Linked DNA regions of Homo sapiens: regions 1, 2 and 3 are each linked to region 4. Evidence: promoter capture Hi-C in 16 types of primary human blood cells and fetal thymus (Javierre and others, 2016). All regions are on one chromosome and are shown on one strand. The core of a region is centred on a gene start or on the middle of the fragment in contact, and the rest is flanking DNA. Distances in the headings are between cores, read along the strand shown.

Region 1 (2,920 bases), core at 146-2,645, 1.1 Mb after region 4:
TATTTAACTGAAATAAAACAAATAACCTTTATCATCAATGATTTCCTAAACCGACTATGAACCTTTCCCCGTGTTTGTGTACATGTGTGTAAAATGCAACAAGAAGGGCTGTGTGCATGCTCTCCCCTTTCTATGTAGACATATGTGTGTGTGTGCATATGTGTGGGGTGCTTCATGCCTTTTTTCTCAGTGTGTGCATGCATGTAATTATGTACTAAGACATACCGAGTGTGTGCCACGTGCTTTCTTTCTGTACATGTGCATGCACATATATACATGTGCTAAGCCATGGGAAGGAGGTATTACACGCCTTTTTCGTTCTGTGCAGTCATGTGGGTGTGTGTAAGTGCATGTGTGCTATACTCCATGCCGTTTGCTTTATAACATTTCTTCCACCCTCACCTCTTTGCCTTCTGTGCTTAGAGTTTCTTTCTTGTTTCAAATGGTTGAATATCAATGTTTCTGTTCTTTCTGACTCTTTCCATCTTTTTCTTCTATTCTATTAGCAAAAGAAAAGTTACCACAAGGGATGGGAACAAGAAAGATAACATTGTGTGCCAAATTGTTTTCCTGCTCTGTTTTTACTCTGTGGGCTCATCTGGATGTCAGTTTTGTTGTTGAACTCATAGGGTTAATTACCTTCCCCTGTCCCTCTTATCTCTTTAAAATCTCCTGAAATCTTTCCATTCTTGGAAAATGCACACACACACATACACGCACTCACTCTTACTCACATACATGTCCTTAGATGTCATGTCCATGGGCCCCAGGTTAAGTGAGATGCTTCACAAGTACAGCGGCTGCCACATTGGTCCCTGAATCCTCAATGCCAGCACAGGGCCAGGCAGACAGTAGGTGAATGTGGAATGAATATGTGAATTAATCAGGAGGGCCAGTGGGGGTCCATTTATCTTTAAGATCATGTGTTGTGTTACTTGGTCAGCAACATGTTTAGGTGGAAAAAGTTAATCTGCTTCAGGTTTCTTGAAACATCCAGGAATACTTTCCCTCAGTCTCTTTTAAAAATGTTTGTTATTATTCACATAAATTCATCCTGCTTCTTTTAATAATTCAGGCTTCTACCACCTAAGGTCAGTATGTACAGTTGCATAGGCTGTGCACTGTTTTTGTTCAGGGTGTCTGGCCAAAGAGAGGAGAGAGAGCTAAAATTCAAGCTTCTTTGCTGGGGCAGGGTAGGTCTGCCTTGAGGAGGAAGCACCTGCCTGCAGTGCTGTGCTTCCCCAGGGGGATGCTTGCTGTAATCTGCACAAAGAAGCAGGGTGGATTCGCCGTGAGCCGCCTACAGGTTACGTAAATCCCTGGGCTACCGTTCTCCAAACTCTAGGTCAAGTTGAGGAAGATGGACACATGCCACCTTTTCATTATGACTTGCTGCGTAGATCAGAATGGGAAAATATTCTGGAAAGAACATCAGCAACAGACACTAGATTTAAGTAGACTATTTCAATCTCCTTTGGTGCTTTCCTACCTGAGCACAGAGTGGGTGAGATGTGGATTTGTGTTGAGGACAGAGAGCCTGAGAGCAATGAAAAGGAAATCAGGAACAGAGGCTGAGCCAGCCACGGGTGGCCCCAGGGGACATCATCATGAACATGAAGCTTTCTGGAAGGCTAGAAGTCGCACTCAGTGGGTGTTTGGGTCTTTATTGCACATCTGTAGTTCCAACCCTTTTCCCTCCCAGGAACTCATGGTGTCCTGTAGTTCTTGTTTACTTTTTCCAAGTGAGAAATCATTCTGCCTTTCTGCCTGCTAACTCCTTTCCTGATGTGAAAGCTCTTTCCCCAATATCAGATTCTCGCTGGCCTTTGTCTTAAAGCAGCCACCATGGAGAACAGGTAGGAACTCGGCTCCCATTCACATGGCCCCTAGCCTCAAAGAAGTAAATTATATCTGTGGGAATCCCTGCTCAGGAGCCCTGCTGACCACACATCTCGCATCTCAGGGCTCTGTTGTGGAAAGGTCCCTCGCAGGCATGACCCACCAAGAATGTTGCCTTTGTTAATTACACCAGTTAACATTGTTAAATGTTTACCATGCCCCAGGCATTGAAATGGGCATTTTACCTTCATTCTTTCATTTGTCACCACAACCCTCTCAGAAGTTACTTAGCATCAGTCTACCTCAGCTTTCTCTTTTATAAAAGAAGAAAACAACACCTGTATTGTGTGGCAAGATTGCTATGATAATAAGAACACCACATTAAAAATACCCAGCAGGGCACCTGGGGTGCACCCAGCTCTCAGCGAGCTGTAGGAACTTCTTTGCTATGACTGGGGCCCTCTGTAAAGTCACATAAGAACAAAATGCAGACATCTGGGCTATATTCAAACAACAGCAAAAGATTGTTCAACATTGGAAGAGCTGGGTTTAGGTGATTTTTTGATATTTTCCTCTTGTGGCCAAATCATATTTGCTGGGTTAATTTTCAAAACTTAGAACAAATTGTCATCTAGTAACTTTTAATGATCTCAGCTTGAGTGTGTTTCCTGCTGTTAGTTCACTCGGAATGTTCTGGGCTGTGTATCAAATGCATTCTCATTGTGTGGTTGCCAGAGAGGAAAAATGCCCATTGTCTTGGCTGTGGCTATTTTTATTTAAATTGCAGTCCAACTTTTAGAAAGTCTTAAGGGTCATAAATGTGAAATGGTGGACAAAGTGCTTTTGAAAAAAAATACATTGTTTTTATTTAAAACAAAAAGTAATGCATGCTCATAAGAGCAAATTTAGGAGACACATAGTATAAAAGAAAAAAAATTAGTTCCATATAGGCCTTTTTCTAAACACAACCACTATTAACTTTTTGGTGAGTTTTTTAATGCAGTTATATAGACAGATATATAGATAGACAACCGATATACAAACAGATTAGATATATATATATATGTGCATGGGTATATGC
Region 2 (2,951 bases), core at 411-2,910, 1.2 Mb after region 4:
TTCCCATCACAGCGTTGGTAAGGTTCTATCCTAGGATACTTCCTGAGCAAAGAAAAAGAAAACATTTACATGCATAATAGTGAACGATTGAAAAAGCATAAATGTTCCACATAAGAGGAAAGGTTCAACCCACTGTAGTCCATATAACAATGTGCCGCTGTTACATGGCAGGCAAAATATATTCTAGCAAATATTTTATAATAATGTGAAAAATGAATAATACCATGTATTTGTAGAAAATTAGAATATAGATTATATATGTGATAAAACATATAGAAATGTGTTTTACATAATTTTAACTAACTATATAGTTCACATTTGTAGATAAATGTGGAATAAAACTATATAGATATATAAATAACTATTCCAAAACATTCATAGCAGAGATACTAGAAGAAGGTTCACCAAAAGGTACTTATTTATGAGTTATTTACGAGTTACTACTAGAGTAATTTTTAAGCTACATATTTTTTAAAAAGAGGAAGAAAGTGATAAATAACCGGCTTGCAATTCCTCTTTTCCCTGGTAGAAATGAAGCAAGCAGCATTAAACACAAGCAAATTTTAAAAACCCCACCTGGCTCCATTCCAGCACTTGGTTTCCATCTCATCTCCTGCAGCTCCGTGGCCTGGCCAGACCCACCTCAGATGCCACTGGCTCCTCTTTTGCTCATGGTCTCTGTGCCCAGGCTCAGCTCTGTGCCCCAAGCCTGACACCCCTTGAGTGTGGACCCTGCAGTCCACAGCCTCTAGACAGGTCACTCAGCTACCACCAATAACTCAGAGCCTCCTTAGGACCTAACAAGTGTGTCTCTTATGAATAAAATTACCTATTTCTGGCTGGGCACAGTGGTTCATACCTGTAATCCCAGGACTTTCGGAAGCTGAGGCGGGTGGATCACCTGAGGTCAGGTGTTCGAGACCAGCTTGGCCAACATGGTGAAATCCCATCTCCACTAAAAATACAAAAATTAGCCGGATGTGGTGGCACATGCCTGTAGACCCATCTACTTGGGAGGCTGAGGCAAGACAATTGCTTGAACCCGGGAGGCAGAGGTTGCAGTGAGCCGAGATTGCTCCATAGCACTCCAGCGTGGGCAACAGAGTGAGACTCCATCTCAAAAAAAAAAAAATTACCTATTTCTGCTACACATAAATAAAGGTGTGGGTTTTTCTTGGTTTTTTTTTTTGGCTTTTTTTTTTGAGATGGAGTCTCACTCTGTCTGTCACCCAGGCTGGAGTGCAGTGACCCAATCTCGGCTCACTGCAAGATCCACCTCCCGGGTTCACACCATTCTCCTGCCTCAGCCTCCCGAGTAGCTGGGACTACAGGCGTCTACCACCACGCCCGGCTAATTTTTTGTATTTTTAGTACAGATGGGGCTTCACCGTGTTAGCCAGGATGGTCTTGATCTCCTGACCTCGTGATCTGCCTGCCTCGGCCTCCCAAAGTGCTGGGATTACAGGTGCGAGCCACCGTGCCCAGCCAAACATAGGTATTTAATTCAAATTTTGGTGAGATACATTCTCGTCAAATATTTAATAGGTGTTAACCCTGTTAAATATTCGGAAGCAATTATAAAAATAATATTGTGCACCTACCATTTTAAAATTCAGCACACATTTTACATCTATTAAAATGCACAGGTATTGATAACAGCAATAGCTACTGACGTGAACTGAGTACCTCACCTGTGCCCATACTGAGGGTTAGGGCAGGGATTCCCTCATCCTCATGCTCCCCATGAACTGCGCGCTGCCCACGACTGAGGCTCAGGGCTGCGGGCTTGCGTGCATTCACTCACACAGCCTCCAAACAACCCCAGCAACCTCTGATGCCAGGATCGCTGAGATGCCGGAGGGCTGGTCTTTACCAGGGTCATACCTCTGATGAGGGAGGACCAGGACTAAACACAAGCAGGTTGCCTCCCGAGCTTCACCAATGGGCCACACCACTCCACAGAGCCCTCAGTGGAAGGAGTTTCTGCTCTCCTGCCTGCAGGGTTGTGTGGTGGGTGGAGCGAGTATCCATCTTCCTCATCTTGGTCACGCCCCTAGAGGAAGAGCAGCAGCCAATGAGATTGATGAGCCCATGACACCCACAGGCCACGGCTGCTACCTCTGTGGACAGCCTCAGTCAGAGGTCGCTCCTTAACCGGGGTGCCCTGGGGATCAGGGTGTGCTTTCTCCCTCTTGTCTCCCCACGCGGAAGGGGAGAGGGCAGCAGAAGGAAGCCCACCCTCTCCTACATCTGCCCACAGCCGAGACCCCGCATCCAGGGAAAGGGGCTGTAGGACTTTACTCTGCCTCTTGCTCACACCTCTGGTTGGAGGAGGGAGGGAGCCTAGATCCCTGGGAGCCTACCGGCAGCAGTCAGGAGCTCTGCCTCCCTCCCCCAGCACTCTGCCGTGTGAACACTGCCAGCTCCACTGTCAGGATGAAGCAATGGAGACCCAGAGTGAAAAATCATGCTGAGCACATGGCAGATCAACCTGGGTCCTCATGACTCCAATGCCTTTGATACACATTTACCCTCTGGAATAACAGAATTATAAAACCTAACACAATTTGCTATAAATAGATTAATTTTTCCCCTTTCTCCTGATAGACAAGACTATTGATAATAAGTCATTTTTAAAACCAATAAAAATTTTTATCTTTAAAATATATTCTAAAAATTGAATTAAAACCAAAACAAATCTTTAAGAAAAATCAGTATTTTCTTTTCTGGAATCTCCTGGCTACTCCCACATATCACCTCCAATTGCACACACAGACTCAGATTCTTTTGTTTTGTTTTTGTTTTTGTTTTTGTTTTTGTTTTTGAGCCGGGGTCTCACTCTATGGCTCAGGCTGGAGTGCAGTGGCATGATCATGGCTCACCGCAGTCTCCATTTTCTGGGCTCAGGTGATTCTCCCTCCTCAGTCTTCTGAGTAGCTGGGAGTACAGGC
Region 3 (2,700 bases), core at 59-2,558, 1.1 Mb after region 4:
CATCCTATCAGTTAACATAACGCAATGTGATTCAATGCACTGCAATGAAAATAAAGTTAAGGTCCAGGTATTTGTATCTATTCCTCTTTTTTCTTCTCAGGATCCTTCTCTTTGGTGTTTGTTGGGCTGCCCAGCATTTATTTAACTGTGCAGGTAACCTCACTCAAGAAACTGAGGAAAGCTAAACCCCTCCACAGTGGCAAAAATGAGGGACACACTCTGAGAAAAAGAACCAGGATTGTGAAAGAGGCCACAGGATGATCCAGTAAGATAGGAGGGGAGCATGAGGAAGAAGGCTCCCTGAGGGCTGGGGTGAGGGTGAAACAGTTGTGGGCAGGACCCCTGGTAGCCGCCTTCAAGGCTGGAACACGAGGGAGGCGGCGGTACACTATGGTAGGGTTTCTGAAGGTTTCTTTCAGATACATTATATAACCCATTCTTCAGTGACCCAGAACTTCTCTCAGGACCCGTAATGCTATTGCTTGTATCTGGCAATAAGTAAGTGTTTACTTGTCTACGGAAATTTTTTTTGGATGGATTTTCTAGATCATATGTGTTGTTTTTTTGAAGCTGTGATGTGCTGCTATTGGCCATAAAGCAAAAGAACAAATTTTTGGTTTTATATGGGTCTCTAAAGATCTGCCATTGAAAGAATCATCTCCTACAAAAGTTTCAAACAATGATTATTCTGTTTAATACGAATTTTCAAGGCACAACCTTTAGAGTAGACAGTTTATTCTAACCCCTCCCTCAGTCTATTTCCCAAAGTATTGCTTGATTGAATGAACACTAATTGTGTAATAGAAACAACACTTTGAGAAGTTCTAGTAGTCGGGTTATAAGAAATGGTTAGGAAAGGAAGTCAGTAACCGTGTGCACAAGAACAATAATTAGCTGGATAGCAGGAAGCTGCCGGGTTCTCACACAAAAGCTTTCAGGCTCATCTTTTCCCTCTTACTTCCTCTCTTAAGGTGTCACCAACATACATATAGTCTCCTTTAAAAAGATTTGGCATCCTAAAGTGAGTTATTATTTTTAAAGTCAAGTAAAAATACAGTAACCCAGAATGAGAAAGACTCTGTAATAAGTCATTCAGGCATTTACATACAGACTAAGCATAATAGGATGACATCTATAATCTTACGAAGAGTGTGAATCTGCTGGGTGCAGTGGCTCATGCCTGTAATCCCAGCACTTTGAGAGGGTGAGGCGGGTGGATTGCTTGAGGTCAGGAGTTCGAAACCAGCCTGGCCAACATGGCAAAACACTGTCTCTACTAAAAATACAAAAAAAAAAGTAACCAGGCATGGTGGTGCCTGTAGTCCCAGCTACTCAAGAGGTTGAGGCAGGAGAATCTCTTGAACCCAGGAGACGAGGTTGCAGTGAGCTGAGATCACGCCTCTGCACTCCAGCCTGGGTGACAGAGTGAGACTCTGTTTCAAAGAAAAAAAGAGTGTGAATCTTTTCTCCCCTTGCTTTATAGCATAAGAGAAAGGCCATCAAGTTGGGGGCACATTTCTCATTCTGAGTGAGGCTGACTTTGCCTTCACAATGTAAATCATGGACACACATGGGAGATGAGGTCTTCCCATACAACTGTATGTAGTTTTCAATCTCACAACAATAATCAGGCAACATCCTAGAGAATAATTATAAGTGGATTTGTTGGAAGTAGGAGGGAGAATGAAGCTTCATCATGCATACAACCAGTTTGTCTTGTGTAATGTAAGATGCATCCTAGTTATTCTGAAACAGTATTTAAAGCAAAAGGTTTGCTCAAGATAGAAAAAAATAGATAAAGCTTAGTCTCATGGAATGATCTATGGGTTACTCATCCAAGCTCTCACTTTCTCCCCTTCTCTATCCATATTAACTACACATGTGGGCTTGATAGTGCACAAGATAGCCTCAATTCACAAGATAACTTTCTTTCTTTTAGCAAACACTCAGCCTTCTCACACTATTCTCATATCTAGAAGATTGACCTAAAATCTCAGTTAATCAACTTATGCCTAAAAGCAGATATCAGTGCAAAAACCTTAGCAATGTCTAGGAGGAAATAATCAATGAGATGACAATGGAAAGAAAGCCTATATATCCTATTGTAAACTAAAAAGTACCTGAGACAAGTCTCAATCAGTTTAAAAGCTTATTTTGCCAAAGCTAAGGAAATGCCTGTGACACAGCCTCAGGAGGTCCTGATGACATGTGCCTAAGGTGATTGGGTTACAACTAGGTTTTATACATTTCAGGGAGACAAGACATTAATCAATACATGCAAGATGTACATTGCTTTGGTCCAGAAACGTGGGAAAACTGGAAACGGGGGCTTCCACGTCATAGATGGATTCAAAGATTTTCTTATTGACAATTGGTTGAAAGAGTTATTATCTAAAGACCTGGAATCAGGCCAGGTGCAGTGGCTCATGCCTGTAATCCAAACACTTCGGGAGGCCGAGGCAGGAGAATCAGTTGAGGTCAGGAGTTCAAGACCTGCCCAGCTAATATAATGAAATCCCATCTCTACTAGAATTACAAAAATTAGCTGGGCATGGTGGTGCACACCTGTAGTCCCAGCTACTTGGGAGGCTGAGGCAGGAGAATTGCTTAAACTCAGGAGGCAGGGGTAGTAGTGAACCAAGATTGCACCACTGCACTCCAGCCTGGGTGACGAGTGAGACGCTGTGTCAAAAATAAAGT
Region 4 (2,700 bases), core at 23-2,522:
TCCACATTGCCCGCACCCACCACGCACCTGGAAGTTTGTTTGAGGTCGGCGCAGGTGCAGGGGTGGCCCGAGTTGTAAGAATGGTATGGTACTGAAAGTGGCACGCGGAGTTCAAACCTACACTCTGTTGTGGCCGCTGGGTAACCTTAAGAAGTTACTTCTTTTTCAGCTTCAGGTTTTCCAACCGCAGAAGATATCAAAACCCGAATCCACTTTACTTGTTTTTGGACATACCGGGACTAGACATTGCTTTGCAAACCAAAAGGCTGTGCAAAGTCAGTATTTTAAAAGAGAGGTACTATTTCCTACAACGTGCCTGCCCACCTTCCTTGGTCCAAATCCGCCTATATCCCCCCCATCCCCAAGCATCCCTGGGATTGCAGTCCGTGTGCACCCCCGTGCGGGGCGAGGAGAATCTCCTGTGTCCAGGATCTTTCCAACAGCTAAACATCGGTACCGCTCCCCTCAGCTCCGGAAACCTTTAACCCATTTTCACTGAAAGCGCTTTGCAATTTACAAGTACTCTGCACTTAGAGAATCGAGCAAGTAGAGGGCCGGCTGGGGAGGGTCCCTCCGGCGACCGCCTTCACCTTTCCCGGAGCGCCTTCAGTTTCCCCACATATTATCTCCAGTGAGAAGAAAAGCGGAGTCTCCCGCAGCGGCACCCAGCAACCCCCAGGCCCTTCGGCGCCAGTGCGCCGGGTGCTGCACGCAGCGCACCTGGCGCGGGCGGCTCACCTGGAGCTGGCGGCGCTGGCAGCAGGTAGGCGCGCAGGCGGCTGACGGCACTAGCGTTGACGCAGAGCCCGCGGCCGTCCAGCAGCGCCTGCAGCGGTCGCGCCTCGTCGGGCGACGGCTGGCAGCGAAGGCCGGAGCCACAGCGCTCGGTGTAGATGCCGCACGGCTGGCCCTCGCTCAGTGCGCACGTCAGGCAGCAGCCGCAGCCCGGCTCGCGCACCAGCTCCGCGCACACGGCGGGCGGAGGCGCGCACTGGGCCAGTGCACGCGCGTCGCACGGCTCGCAGCGCACCACGGGACCCAAGCCCGCCGAGCTCGCGCCAGCCCGCGCCACCGGCGGCCCGCGGAGCAGCACCAGCAGAGTCAGCGCAGCGGCCCAGAGCGTGGGTCGCGCCCGCTGCATGACGCCTGCAACCGGGGCACGCTGCTTGGCAGGCTGGGCGCGCAGGGATGGGGCGACAGTACACGGCGCGAAGCTGTGGAATCCAGGCAGGAAGCGGCTGATCCTCAGCGCCCAGCCGCAGTGCTCGCATCTGGGCGGCCCGGGCGCGCCGGCCGCTATATAGAAGCCGGGGTGGCCCAGGACACGCCCCGGAACGGCGCGCCCAGGAGTGGGGGTTGGGAGGGGGGCGGGTCGGCGCAGGCACGGCTGCGGGGGCCCGTGCTTCGCCCTGAGCAGCCGGGGCCGAGCTCGGGGGCGTGCAGCTCGAGACTCGCCCGGGCACCTGCTCCTCGTGCGCACGCCCGGAGCCCGGGTCACCTTGTCGTCTACAAGAACCAAGGTGTGCCCGGCCACCCCGGCACTCCAGGCCACCTCAGCACCCCCGGTCACCCCAGTCACTCCTGGCCAACTCAGCACCCCCGATCTCCTTGACCCCGCCGCCCTTACCCCTTCCGCTCTCGGGGTGAGGTCTCCCTGCGGCGAGCCGGTGTCGGGGAAACTGGCATACAGCGCTCCGCATTCGTGTGTACCTCGTGGAGCTTTCTAAAATTTAATTCCGTTGGCAGGCGAAGTCTTGGGACATTTCTGACTTACATTTGGGTCTCAGGGAGCCAAGGCACTGCGGGGTTTAATTTACACCCGCTGGGCTGTTTATATCCCCAGGGGCCCACAAATACGCATCTGAAGATGCGCCCGGGGCCTTCGCCCCTTTCCAGGCTTACTTCTCAACGCAAGAAGACTCTCACGTGTTGCTACACCGCAAGTCTCCAATTAAGAGTGGACCGGCAAGCGAATGCGTCCTTAAGGCAGGGCTTTTCAAATATTTTAAATGACAACTGTTCTTCTTGTCTTGGGTATTCTCCCTGATTATGTTTTCAAATGGAGTTTACACCCATGACAAAAGAATAATAAAGACAATAAACTGGGCACTGCTGAAACGTAATTAACCAAATAGTCCTTTAATAGGCAATTTTCATTGTCATTTTTTGAAGGCGACTTCGTATTACTGTATTCTCGATGCGTTGGGATTCTAGCTTATCTCTGCAATCTAAACACTTTTCAGTAAAGTTCGGGGGCGCAATTGCGCGCTGAGGTCGCTGTAACTCCTGTCGGCCTTCTCTGGCACTCGAGTTTCTTCAGTTTTGTCTGCGCACCCCCTCCCTTCGGTGACCAACAGAGGACGCTGGTGGTCCAGGATTGGATTGAGGATTAAATTTTTCAAGGCACTTTTCCAAAGAGTTTGTGGGGGTGGAGTGGGAAGCGGTGAGACCTCCGCGGGAGGAGACTTTCCTGAACGCTGTTGAAATTGGACGCTTGCCTTAGGAGGTGGATAGGTGACTTGAAGGAGCCCTTTGCAGTTTGGAGTAGTAATAGCAAATCAGGAGCTCCTCCATTCCCCTCCAGCACGAAGCCTTGGGTGAAGTTAATCTTCATTCATCATTTCTGTCTCTCCTAATCGATCTCTCGCCCAGTGTCTCTCCTTGTCCCTCTCCCTCCCTTTCTCTCTCTCGTCCTCTCCC

Evidence for each region. The method cuts DNA at HindIII sites, captures the fragments that hold promoters and counts their contacts. A CHiCAGO score of 5 or more calls a contact.
Region 1: a contact is called between a fragment that was not itself captured here and the fragment with the promoter of IGFBP3 in region 4, in 2 of 17 cell types (M1 macrophages and M2 macrophages). The highest score is 6.2, in M1 macrophages.
Region 2: a contact is called between a fragment that was not itself captured here and the fragment with the promoter of IGFBP3 in region 4, in 14 of 17 cell types (M2 macrophages, M1 macrophages, monocytes and 11 more). The highest score is 19.6, in M2 macrophages.
Region 3: a fragment that was not itself captured here is called in contact with the fragment with the promoter of IGFBP3 in region 4 in 1 of 17 cell types (total B cells); the score reaches 5.0 in total B cells.

What each region holds. Positions count from the first base shown.
Region 1 is chr7:47,037,557-47,040,476 of GRCh38, forward strand. All of the region lies in intron 2 of LOC105375268 (a long non-coding RNA gene), which reads right to left. Among named protein-coding and RNA genes, the nearest start is that of SNORD151, 430 kb to the right of the region's middle. RefSeq lists an enhancer at 1,540-2,322. The HindIII fragment of the contact is 444 bases long and covers 1,174-1,617 here.
Region 2 is chr7:47,101,964-47,104,914 of GRCh38, forward strand. No RefSeq gene overlaps it. Among named protein-coding and RNA genes, the nearest start is that of SNORD151, 360 kb to the right of the region's middle. The HindIII fragment of the contact is 9,690 bases long and covers 1-2,951 here.
Region 3 is chr7:47,014,271-47,016,970 of GRCh38, forward strand. All of the region lies in intron 2 of LOC105375268 (a long non-coding RNA gene), which reads right to left. Among named protein-coding and RNA genes, the nearest start is that of SNORD151, 450 kb to the right of the region's middle. The HindIII fragment of the contact is 758 bases long and covers 930-1,687 here.
Region 4 is chr7:45,920,000-45,922,699 of GRCh38, forward strand. IGFBP3 (insulin like growth factor binding protein 3) reads right to left here and starts at 1,273. Exons shown (of 5, transcript NM_000598.5): 1 at 739-1,273. The coding sequence starts at 1,141. RefSeq lists enhancers at 1,076-1,656, 1,657-2,237. The HindIII fragment of the contact is 8,094 bases long and covers 1-2,700 here.